3 separate regions of the Homo sapiens genome follow, and all the other regions are linked to region 1. Evidence: promoter capture Hi-C in human tissues and cell types (Jung and others, 2019). All regions are on one chromosome and are shown on one strand. Each heading gives the region's core, a stretch centred on a gene start or on the middle of the fragment in contact. The rest is flanking DNA. Distances are from core to core; before and after follow the strand shown. Region 1 holds the start of SLC38A2 (solute carrier family 38 member 2). Region 2 holds the start of PCED1B-AS1 (PCED1B antisense RNA 1). Region 3 has its middle 79 kb from the start of SLC38A4.

Region 1 (3,851 bases), core at 642-3,141:
TAAATATGTGTTGCAATACAAACCACCAAAAAGTCCAAAAGACATGAGATTTACTTATAGTGCCACTTGCCACCCATAACTACCAACCCTGAGGGCCTCCTTAGCACCTCTAACTGGGCAGAGGAAACGACCAGAGATTCATCTGGAATGAAAAAGTGGTTTAAGACCTTTTGATTGTTATCAGTTGAAACCTAATATAAAGAAACTTCCTGGGACTCCTCTCTAACCTACCACTACCAAGATTGTTGTGACAAGAAGAGTTGATTGATTTTATTGGGGAATGTATGTGGAAGGAAGATAGTTTTTTCAGCCCTAATTGTGTGTCAAATTCCAAACCTGCCCTTGGGGAGTTCACAATCTTTGGGCAGATGATACTACAAATAGTCTGGAACGATTTTGAGTGCATGACAGCACGGATTTTTAAAAGTCCGTCACCATATTGTTTTAGAAAATAGTACCTGCAAAAAGAGGGCTGAGTACGGAGGGATTAAGGCATGCGGGGCGCTTTCCTGTGGCTCGAAGACTAAGCCTTGCATGACAGCGGCATTTAAGGGGATGAGAGGAGATTGGACACCAAAGCAAGAATGGCTATTATTTAAGACTGGCCTGAACAGAGTAGAAGGTTTGCGGTAGGGAAGACTGGCCTGAACAGAGTAGAAGGTTTGGGGTAGGGAACACAGGAGTGTGATGGGGGAAATCGGGACCTCGCTTGTCAATCATAAACACTGGTGCAGGCGAGGGCACCCGAAGCCTCACGTGCGGCGGAAATAGGCAGTTGTACGGATTTCCTCAGTAAAACATTGAAAGCAAAAACTGCGATCACACCCAGCCCTTTCCTCTATGCCCTGCCCAATTTCTCCCAAGTCCCCAAAAGGAAGAGAGCAGTAGGTCAAACTTGTTTATTCATTCATTCCATGAACATTTCTCTCTCCTAAGGGGTCTTTGTTTCCTGCAAGGGAGTGAGTCTTGCCTTTCCCGCAGCACCAATTTTTCCACAGCGAAGGGTCCCCCTAGTTGCCTGGCTCAGCAAGACCACACACATCACCATTGAAGGGAAAGGACCAGGCTCCGCAGAAAGCGCCTCAGACCCGCATTCAGACAAGGCAGTGCCTTTGCCCGGGGCGGCGGTGGTGGGATAAGAGAAGCAACGTGTCAGCGAGTGGAAAACTGGGGACTCCCAAACGGCCTTAGGAGCGCCGGGCTCCCCACTGGGGCCTCTTTCTAAGGGGCCTGGCTTGCTGGCCAAAAGGTAGCCTTTCCGCTAGTCCAGTTTCCATGGCCGTACAAAAAGCACATCCCGAAAAGGAGCTGCTCGCCGACCTCCGGCTAGTTTTGAAGAGTGAAAGCAGGTCTAGGTGGAAAAGAAAGAACAACAAACCATCAGGACAACCTTGCTGCCTTGGCCCAAGTTTGTGAGACAAAACTTCACTGTAAATCACAAAAATAACAATCAAGAAAGTGTTTGGTGGGAGGGTGGTGTCCCCCAAAAGCCTTGATGTGTCCCCCGAAAGCAAGGACTGCTGGTGACTCGGACAGGAGAAAATTTTAAGGAGATGGCTCCTCAAAGACAACCGCATGTGTTGAGCACCAACCCTGGCTGAAAAGGATAGGCAGGGGAAGCATCTGGGGGTCTTTCCAGACTATCTAGAAAGCTGGAGAGAGTGGGCTTGGGCTTTGCGGGAGAGTCTTGGGGGCGCCTGCGGGCGGGGCTGGGCCGCGGGCGCGGGCCGCAGAGGGAGGGGCAGGGAGGCGGGGCCTAGGTCTGGGCGGGTCGGAGGCGGGGCCCAGGTGGTGTTGATACACAAAGAGAAGGCGCCCGGGCGGCCGCGGTCCCGCCCACTGACGCGTCCCCGGGGTGCCGCTATAACCCGCCGCTCGCAGGGCTGCTCCACAGCCGCGCGACGCCGCCGCCTTAGAACGCCTTTCCAGTACTGCTAGCAGCAGCCCGACCACGCGTTACCGCACGCTCGCGCCTTTCCCTTGACACGGCGGACGCCGGAGGATTGGGGCGGCAATTTGTCTTTTCCTTTTTTATTAAAATTATTTTTCCTGCCTGTTGTTGGATTTGGGGAAATTTTTTGTTTGTTTTTTATGATTTGTATTTGACTGAGAGAAACCCACTGAAGACGTCTGCGTGAGAATAGAGACCACCGAGGTAACGCGTGCGGGGGGGCGTCTGTGGGAAGGGCGCGGGGCCCGGGCGAGAGTGGGGGAGGGGCTTCCGGGAGGGGCCGCGCGGGAAGGCGGCCGCGGGGTCCGTTTCCTTTCGAGGCGGGCGTTGTCGGTTGGGCTGGCCAGCCTTCCACCCTGGCCCGCCGCGCGGGTGTCGCGCCCGCGACGTGGGTAGGAGAGCGGGCGCTGGGCGGGGGCCGCGTGCCTGCACGGTGCGGAGCCGCATCTTCCCATTAGGGGGAGGGGAGCTAGCCCGGCCAGCGGCTCTGCTGCGGCAAGTCTTGTGACTGATTTGCATTTAATAAAAAAAAAAAATTAAGTCCAGGGAGCCAGGAATCTGGGGGCGGCGGAGGTGGGCTTGGGCATGTATTACAGGAGAGGCCAAGATTGGGGAAGACGAGTTGGGAACATTTGACAATCGACGATCGATATTGCATCAGTTTTCTTTCCGGACATAGGAGGGGCTGGGCGGGCGTAGCACTCGCGGGCCAGCTGCCTGTGGACGGGTGTGCTTGAGGGCACTGGCGCGCGTGTGTAAACAAACCCCCAGCTCCCGGGGCCCGGGCGTTCGCCCCCCTCGAGAGAGGAGTAGTGTCGGCCCTTTCCGCCTCCTGGGGAAGGCTGTCTGCGGCAGAGGCATTTCTCCGTGTGGGGACTCCGGGCAGTAAAGGACAGATTACGCAGCATTGCTGTTCCAAATGCTAGAAACGGAAAGCCGTGCGCCTAGGTTGCATGCACACGAGCCAGGGTCGGGGCTGGATGTGTGCCCTGAGTGCCTGTGCAAGTTTGGAGCGACTGGGAAAAAGCAAAACAGAACCCCCCCTCGCCCCCTCCACTCCGACGAGGGACAATAGAGAGGGTGAAATACTGAAATCTGCCGGAGTAGGGGGCCTCGACGGCCGCAACACAGCGGTGGCATCATCTTTGTTCTCCCCGCGGCTCCGCCGTCTGTACTTTTCCGCCCCTCGGCGCGCCCCCGCCCCTCGCGCGCGGCTGGTACTTTTCCACTCGCCTGGCCTGGGATGAATCAGCCGCGCTGCGCCTCCGGGCGGCGTCACGTGACCGCGGCGGGCTGGCGCTGCGGTCCTGACGCGCCGCCTCTACTTTCGCAGGCCGACTCGCGGGCCGCTGCACCCACCGCCAAGGACAAAAGGAGCCCAGCGCTACTAGCTGCACCCGATTCCTCCCAGTGCTTAGCATGAAGAAGGCCGAAATGGGACGATTCAGTATTTCCCCGGATGAAGACAGCAGCAGCTACAGTTCCAACAGCGACTTCAACTACTCCTACCCCACCAAGCAAGCTGCTCTGAAAAGGTGGGAGAAGTTGTGACACTTTTGAAAAAACGGCTTGCATGGGTTGGGTTCAGGGAGTTACCTAGGACTCTGCTTCCATTGCTTTAATTTGCTATAGCATTTAGAGAAGGTGCGTAATCTCTGAAAGAGTATCCGATTATCTTGTTGTAATGACAAGATAGCTGGTGTGAAAGTCAACTCCTAGTTAATATTTATACATTAAGTAAAGATGTTGTATCAGAGCTATGCTGTTGGAGGGTATTTTATGTTAAAGCAGTCTTGTGTGTAATGATAGATATTTCAATCCAGTTTACAATTATATATGTCTATATTTTTTGCAGCCATTATGCAGATGTAGATCCTGAAAACCAGAACTTTTTACTTGA
Region 2 (3,851 bases), core at 888-3,387, 840 kb before region 1:
AGCAACTCTGCAGGCTCAATCAATCCTCCCACTTCAGCCTCCCTAGTAGCTGGGACTACAGGCCTGTGCCACCATGCCTGGCTAATTTTTATAGTTTTTTTTAGAGACAGGGTTTCATCATGTTGTCCAGGCTGGTCTTGAACTTAGACTCAAATAATCCACCTGCCTCAGCCTTCCAAAGTGCTTGGATTACGGGTGTGGGCCACCGCACCTGGACTACATATTCTAATTTTCTCCATTTTATACTTTTAAAAATTAAGGCTAAAAGATTGAGTAATCTGCCCAAGGTCATCCATTTTATAAGAAGTAGTGCTGGAAGTAAAACCTGATGCCAAGCCTTTGTGGTCAACCACAACATACAAGATTGCAGACAACAGATGCCTCACGTCCCTTCTCCAGTTCACAACTAAATTGGCTGTTTTCTTTCACTGTCCATTTTAATAAATTTACAAGTTTATCAATCACTAATATTTTTGTTATTGCCAAGCACCAGTTGTCTCTTTAGTGTTACATGGGGTGGGCTGAAGGAGGCTAGGGTGCTGATTCCTGTCTACAGTAAGTGCCCAAAAAATGATGGTCTCAAGAAAGGCTGGTCAGAAATGCCAACTTAAAGTTTCAGATAAAATGGAAAAACTGAAAAGTACTTACTCATTAAAGTAACTGGTGATTTTTAAGCATCTCTCTCAGTTGATTCTAGATCTCGTCCCTAGATAGCTTTCTTCCTCTCCTGTAGATCATTGTGACCAGACGGGAGATCTCAGAGCTTGGGCTATAGGGGAAATAGGTTAGCCTCTGGGTGCTGCTGTGCTTGCAAGCCAGCGTCTGGGGAGAAGATGACATTTCCGGTGGCATCTGGGGCAAACGACACAAGTCAGCATTTAGTTTCTTGCTTTAGGAAGCGGAAGACTAATGACCGAAGCTTCAAGACTTTGACATGTGTGAAAACATGAAATGGTAAGTCAATACAAAGACAGCATCTTCCTGGAATTTGGTTTTGAGCTTGTTTTCATTTCACCTTTCTCAGTAATCTGGGTGTAGCTTATTTTGACTCTTCCTTTGATTAAACAATTCAGACCCTTGGCTCTTATTGTTCTTGCTGGTGTGGTATGTTCACGGCTGAAAAGATGGTCAGAAGGGGAAAGGAGGAAGTGAGAAGAAAGAAACAGGGAAATGGTAAGAAGAACTCTACTTTTCTAAATAATATTTAATAGTAGTAATCTTGTGTTTCTGTGCAAGGTGTTACAGTTTACAAACCGCTTTTATTTTTATTTATTTATTTTTTTTGAGACGGAGTTTTGGTCTTGTTGCCCAGGCTGGAGTGCAGTGGCATGGTCTCGGCTCATTGCAACCTCTGCCTCCCAGGTTCAAGCGATTCTCCTGCTTCAGGCTCCGAGTAGCTGTGACTACATGCACCCACCACCACACCCGGCTGATTTTGTATTTTTAGTAGAGATGGTGTTTCACCATGTTGGCCAGTCTGGTCTCGAACTCCTTACCTCAGGTGATCCACCCGCCTTGGCCTCCCAAAGTGCTGGGATTATAGGGGTGAGCCACCATGGCAGGCCACAAACCGCTTTTAAATCCTTTCACTTCATCTCTCCACTGACGTCTTGATGGAAAAATGGCTCAGTCCACACTACAGGAAACCACAGGCCTGAGCCCCAGCCTCAGCTAGATCCAGTATGTGGCAGAGCAAGATAAGAACTTTCTGCTTCCTCCCTTAGTGTTCCACTTGAAACCAGCAGGTAACTCAAGGGGACAGCGTGCTTAAAAGGGAGATGGTTCGTCTGGCGCTGTGGCTCATGCCTGTAATCCCAGCACTTTGGGAGGCCGAGGCGGGTGGATCACCTGAGGTCAGGAGTTCGAGACCAGCCTGGCCAACATGGTGCAACTCCGTCTCTACTGAAAATACAAAAATTAGCTGGGCGTGGTGGTGGGCCCCTGTAATCCCAGCTACTCGGGGGGCTGAGGCAGGAGAATCGCTTGAACCCAGGAGGCGGAGGTTGCAGTGAGCCAAAATCGTCCCATTGCACTCCAGTCAGGGTGACAAGAGCAAGACTCCATCTTTAAAAAAAAAAAAAGGGTGGGGGAGATGGTCTTCTGATTGATTAGATAAGTGTAGGCATTTGTTTTCTTTTGTCTGGAATAATATGATTTCGGGGAGAGGAATATCACTTTCCCTACAAATACCAAGATGAAAAAGAAAAGGAAATAATGAATCAGAAAAAAAAGAGAGAGAGAAAATGCATGACTACAGAAGGTCCCAGTGCATGACTACAGAAGATCAGAATATACCACCCCCAGGTTCCCGTAATCCCAGGTCCTTGGGAGGCTGAGGCAGGAGAATCGCTTCAACCCAGGAGGCGTAGGTTGCAGCAAGCCGAGATTGCGCCACTGCACCTCAGCCTGGGCAACAGCGAGACTCCATCTCAAAAATAAAAAATATGCCACCCCAAAATATAGTTATTTGGCATATTTCGAGCTGATTATTCTGAGCAACTGCAGACACAAGAGTATCTCTGAAAAGCTGTCCTTTTGTAAAATAAATTTATATTTATAAAAGAAATCTACATTAGTCAAAGTATCTGTATCAGGAAGAGTCCTGCTCTCAGACAACTTTTATTACCTGGGGGATTCCAGTGTGTGTGCATATAATTAAAAATGTTTTTTCCTTTTCTTTTCTTTTTTTTTGAATTGAGATTTGGTCTCAATATGTTGCCCAGGCTGGTCTTGAACTCGTGGGCTCAAGTGATCCTCCCACCTCAGCTTCCCAAAGTGCTGGGATCACAGGCATGAGCCACCGAGCCTGGCCAAAAATGTTTTTTTCTCCTGTTAATCTGTTTTATGTCAATTTAATTTGTATCCCAGCCAAAGAACCTAGAAGTAGGGAGGAAGCCATTTTCCCTCCCTTACAGCACAAAATAACTAACCAACAAGAGTAAGAGGTTTCACAACAGTCCTGAATTACATGCTCTGAAGACTTAGCTTTTTTTAATAGTATGCTATTTATGTAAACTGGATTATAATGTGACATAATTGTCTTTCCTTGAAAAATATCATTTTACTTTACATCACTGTCTATTCAGTGTGTGGCTTAAAATTAATTCCATACCTTATGCATTGTTTTCATCCTCTATGGCCATCAATAAAGTTATCTTGCAGTTCCCCATGAGTTTTAGTACAGTCATTACCGGGAAATTTAATAGAATCAAGGCAGAACCCAACTGATAGCTTTAGTATTTTATAATCCAGAGTAGTCTATTACATAACTTTGAAAAATCTGCCATTATTTAGTTCTAGCAATTCTATAAATGAATTGCAAATCTTTCTAGTTCTGTAGATTTCAGCTAGTCTGTGCACTGTGAGAATAAAAGGACAATCTCTGTAATCATCCCAAGACCAGAGAACAGAAGAGCTGTAATAATGCAAATGATAATCACACTTATACTCTTTAAACTTAAAATAAAGTTGAGATCAACAGATTTTCAACTGATTTTCTTGCTTTCAAGAACTTATTATGCTCTATGTAGACAGCTACTATTGCTATTCTGGCCCTATCTCATGTTTCAAAGCTCAGTGAGCCATCTTTTATTTTTTACCCACCAAACTTGGCTTTTTCTTAAACAGTAATGACAACTTATGCACATATAATGTTTTACCCTGTGAATGTGCTTTCACACACAGATATCCTTTACTATTAGCAGCTCATTAGTAGTTATAGCCACAGAGAAATTTAAACTTTGCTTTATGCAAGCCATTACCATTTTATCCACATTTTCTATCTTAAGGAACGCAATTATTTTTCTTATCTTCTTGGGAATCCTATAAGAGGGCCAGAAATCAGCCCATTA
Region 3 (3,851 bases), core at 572-3,071, 530 kb before region 1:
AAAAGGGGTCCTAAATATAGAAAAAAAAAAGCCCACAAAACGTTCAGGCCATCTTTTATACCTAAAACTATCTTTGAGATTTCCCAGATAGCCCCTGGAAAATTACAGATATTGTTTCTTTTAGTTTATAAAAAGAGAGATGCTGGAAATTAACTAGATTTGTTTGATGAGTTGCATGGGAAGATTTGTCAAATCAAGAGAGACATTTAGCCATCCCTGTGCTAACATTGTATAGGTAAAATTTTATTAATATTAATTTATCAGAAATTGTATGTTTTATGGTGAAGCCCTGGTATTTGTCAATATTTTCACTGTCCACAATATATTTTAACCCTAAGGAATAACACTGATAAAAACTCTAAGAAATAATTGTGTCAGGTTTTCCTATACTTACGAATCCTGGTAGTGCTTTACCTGTCTAATGAGCTGATGATTTCAGGCAACCACTGCATAATCAGTAATAATATTAGTAATTATTTAAAATTGTACTTGGATGAAACCTTATTCTTTTAATTTTAATGTAGTATTTCTAGTCTAGTAGCTCTCAATTGGGGATGCACATAAGACTTACTTATAAAGTGTTATAGCAGTACAGCTCTCTACACCCTACTCCAGACTTACTGAATCTTTTCACTTGTTATTCTTGGTATATTAGAAGTCAGGATAATTGTATACTATATCTCAAGATTTTTTCTCTATAAAAATTGTTTACCCATTTGTATAAATCAGATGTAACATTCATTGACAATAGACTTAATTGTTGTCAGGCACAGAAAGACAAATATTGCATGTTCTCACTCATACATGGTAGCTAAAATGGTTGATCTCATGGATGCAGAGAGAAGAATGATGGTTACCAGAGACTGGGAAAAGTAGTTGCGTATAGGAGGGGAGGGGTTGGTTAGTGGGTACAAAAATACAGACAGAAGGAATAAGATCTTGTATTTGGTAGCAGAATAGGGCAATGCAGTTCAAAATAATTTATTGGATATTTCAAAATAACAAGAAGCATGGAATTAGAATGTTTCTAACACTAAGAAATGAAGTGTTTAAACTGATAGATATCCCAATTACCCCTATTTGACCCCTACACATTTTATACTTGTATCAAAATATTACATGTATCCCATAAATACTACAACTATTTATTGTGTATCCATAAAAATTAAAAAATAGACAACTATTATCCCCAAAAATATTTTATCAAAAGCAATTTAATGGCAATGTGGAAGTAAGACCCATCTTCTTCATATGTCCCACCACACTCAAGGGGAGGTGATTATAAAGGGTAAGTGCACCACTGAGCAGGAATCTTGGCAGCCATCTTACTTCCCAATCCATCCCCATCAATACTTAAATCAGTGGAAATGGTTTTTTTAATCTTTAATTTATAGTTCAGTTGCCACTTTCAATTTTTTTAGGATTTATTTCTTTTTATAACTTCTCATAATTCAGGGTTGGAAGAGACATAAAAGTGATGTCAGGCTTGTCCGCTTTGTGACCCACACTCTGCTAGTTGTCCTCTCTGCTTCTTCCTGCCTCTGCTACTCCATCTCAGCCTCATTCACTAGTTCTTTGAAAATCCCTTAATATTAATATTCTCTGGGGTTCCATCCTCATCTCTCTGTTGGGAAAAGCTGAGTGTTGGGAGAAGCTGAGGCAGGGCTTGCATGTCTGACATAATGTAAAAGAGTCTTGGAACATGTCTGGGGTACAGAGCCTAAAACCCCTTGTGGCCTTTGGAACACCAAGCTCTGTGCTAAAGTGTGGAAGGCTACCCTGACACACCATAATCTAAGCCCAGGGCATAAAACCCCTCATGGCTTGAATAGAATCCAGGGCTCATGGCTCTGGAATGTGTCTAGACTTGCTGGCTCCTTGCTCCTTGCTCTCCCAGGATCGACTGTATCTTGAGTTAAAAGAACCTGCTTTCCATTATCTCAAGCAGAAGAACATGTTCCATGTGCCGCAAAGGAAATGCTAAACCGTCACAGCTGTAGATCATGTGCTTGCCCTTTCGACCCCCACATTCTCACACCCTGTTTCTTTGTTTGATCACCAATAAATAGTCTGGGCTTCCAGAGCTCAGGGACTTCACAGCCTCCATACTTAGTGTTGGCCTCCTGGACCCACTTTTTCTCTGAAACTGTCCTTTCTCATTCCTTTGACTCCACCGGACTTCGTTGCCCCCACGACCTGATGTCGGGCCCGATCACCCCAACATTCCTGGCTGCCCAGTGTGGGGCAGCAAAGACCCCAGTGAAGGAACGCTAGAGTGTGTAAAAGCAGAGGATGCATTGTCAAAGGACACCCGAGGACGACTGAAAGAAGCTTGGTGGGAAAGCTGAGTGCTCGGAAGAACCGGGGTGACAATGGGACAAAGTGAAAGCAAACATTCTGCTTACTTGAATTTCTTGAGGCATTTATTATGAAGAGGGTTAGGCACGGGGTAAGACCCAGTGGAATCTGAGGCTTGTTTATTCAGAGGGCTCCATTTAGAGAAAAAGAAGAGAAAGTGAGGACTTAGAAGGAGCCTGGGCAAGTAAAGTCATCTTGAAGCTTCAGTTTCATGGTTAACCTGCCTCTGCTAGAGAAAAACAGATTTAATGAGTACAGAGGCATGATATGGGCTGCATGTAAAGAAATTTGGACTCAAGGCCCCAAGGAATATTTGTCTGAATTGTGGAATATGCTTGAAATTGGTATGTTAGCAATTTTTGCAGCATCATTCATTGCAAGATTCAGGGCATTCTGGCCTGCTTCCAAAGCCCAGAGCATCACTGATGAAAAGACAGAAATAAAGAAAGAGGGAGACACACTCAGAAAGAGGGCCAGAGAACACCCTGCAGGCAAAACCTCTAACAGAGCCATACAAGATGGGAATCCGGTTCAGAATTATGGTGTTCTGAAATCACAAAACTACCAAACTAATAAGGCTTAATGAGTCAGTATAAAAAGAACGAGTCTTCCCAGTTTGCGTTAAGCACATTTTTTGTTGTTGCTACATTTTGTCCTGCATATTAAAATAAATGAAATAATGTACTTAATGATGTGTTTGATAACCATGCAAAGCAGATAATAGCTGACTAGACATCTGTATAGTGCCACTTCCAAAGGCCAAAGTATCCTTCAGATCTTAAGGCTACCTTAGTCAATGGAAGTTTTCTCAAAGTCTCTCTACACTTGTCTACAGTTTTGAATGTGAATTACTGCACCAGAATCATAGGAAATCAGCTGTTAATCACACAAAAAGTCTCAATCTTTGACTAACATTTTTAAAAGGAAGTGACATTATTTTTCTCTACTGAAACTTGTTCTGCTTCTCTCCCTAAAAATATACGCCAGTTGCTAAGTATTCAGCATTGACTTTTCTACCACAGAATACCCATAACAACAGTAATAATCGCCTGCATTTACCGAGCACCTGATATGTGCTGGGTATTATTCTATTCTAAGCAGTTCACATGTAATAGCTCATTTAATTCTCATAAAAGTCAGTGTGTTCCCTATCCCTATATTATTAATGTAGAAATCAAGAGAAGAGAGGGTAAGTAATTTGCCTAAAATTATGCAGTTACTTGTAAATGACCGACCTTGGGTTTGAACTGCTCTATGTCTCCACAGCCTGTGTTTGTAACCGAGTTCTTCAGTCTCCCAGAAGGCAGTAAAGGCCACTGATATCCAGTGACCCCTTAGAGAGATTTTTGCCAGTATCTGGATGAAAGCCAACAGTGTTATGTGTGCCCGATACCAAAACAACTATGTTCCAAGAGTATAATTTATGATGGTCTGTGTGTGGCATGTGCGTGTGCTTGCAAGCACACATAACATTAGATTCTGCATCTAGCGTC

The links. Contacts are between HindIII fragments. The study calls those that stand out against the background at their distance.
Region 2: a fragment that was not itself captured here is called in contact with the fragment with the promoter of SLC38A2 in region 1 in 1 of the 25 tissues and cell types used here (lymphoblastoid cells).
Region 3: a fragment that was not itself captured here is called in contact with the fragment with the promoter of SLC38A2 in region 1 in 1 of the 25 tissues and cell types used here (mesenchymal stem cells).

Annotation. Positions count from the first base shown.
Region 1 is chr12:46,370,813-46,374,663 of GRCh38, reverse strand. SLC38A2 (solute carrier family 38 member 2) reads left to right here and starts at 1,891. Exons shown (of 16, transcript NM_018976.5): 1 at 1,891-2,155; 2 at 3,285-3,486; 3 at 3,807-3,851. The coding sequence starts at 3,371. SLC38A2-AS1 (SLC38A2 antisense RNA 1) reads right to left here and starts at 1,881. Exons shown (of 2, transcript NR_187299.1): 1 at 1,802-1,881; 2 at 886-1,351. RefSeq lists enhancers at 1,332-1,391, 2,072-2,151, 2,009-2,712, 2,402-2,731, 2,812-2,961 and silencers at 1,642-1,981, 2,182-2,381. The HindIII fragment of the contact is 23,415 bases long and covers 1-3,851 here.
Region 2 is chr12:47,213,487-47,217,337 of GRCh38, reverse strand. It overlaps PCED1B (PC-esterase domain containing 1B), which reads right to left. Exons shown (of 4, transcript NM_138371.3): 3 at 649-1,116. It overlaps PCED1B-AS1 (PCED1B antisense RNA 1), which reads left to right and starts at 895. Exons shown (of 3, transcript NR_026544.1): 1 at 895-954; 2 at 1,074-1,173. The HindIII fragment of the contact is 5,909 bases long and covers 1-3,851 here.
Region 3 is chr12:46,903,499-46,907,349 of GRCh38, reverse strand. No RefSeq gene overlaps it. Among named protein-coding and RNA genes, the nearest start is that of SLC38A4, 79 kb to the right of the region's middle. The HindIII fragment of the contact is 3,394 bases long and covers 125-3,518 here.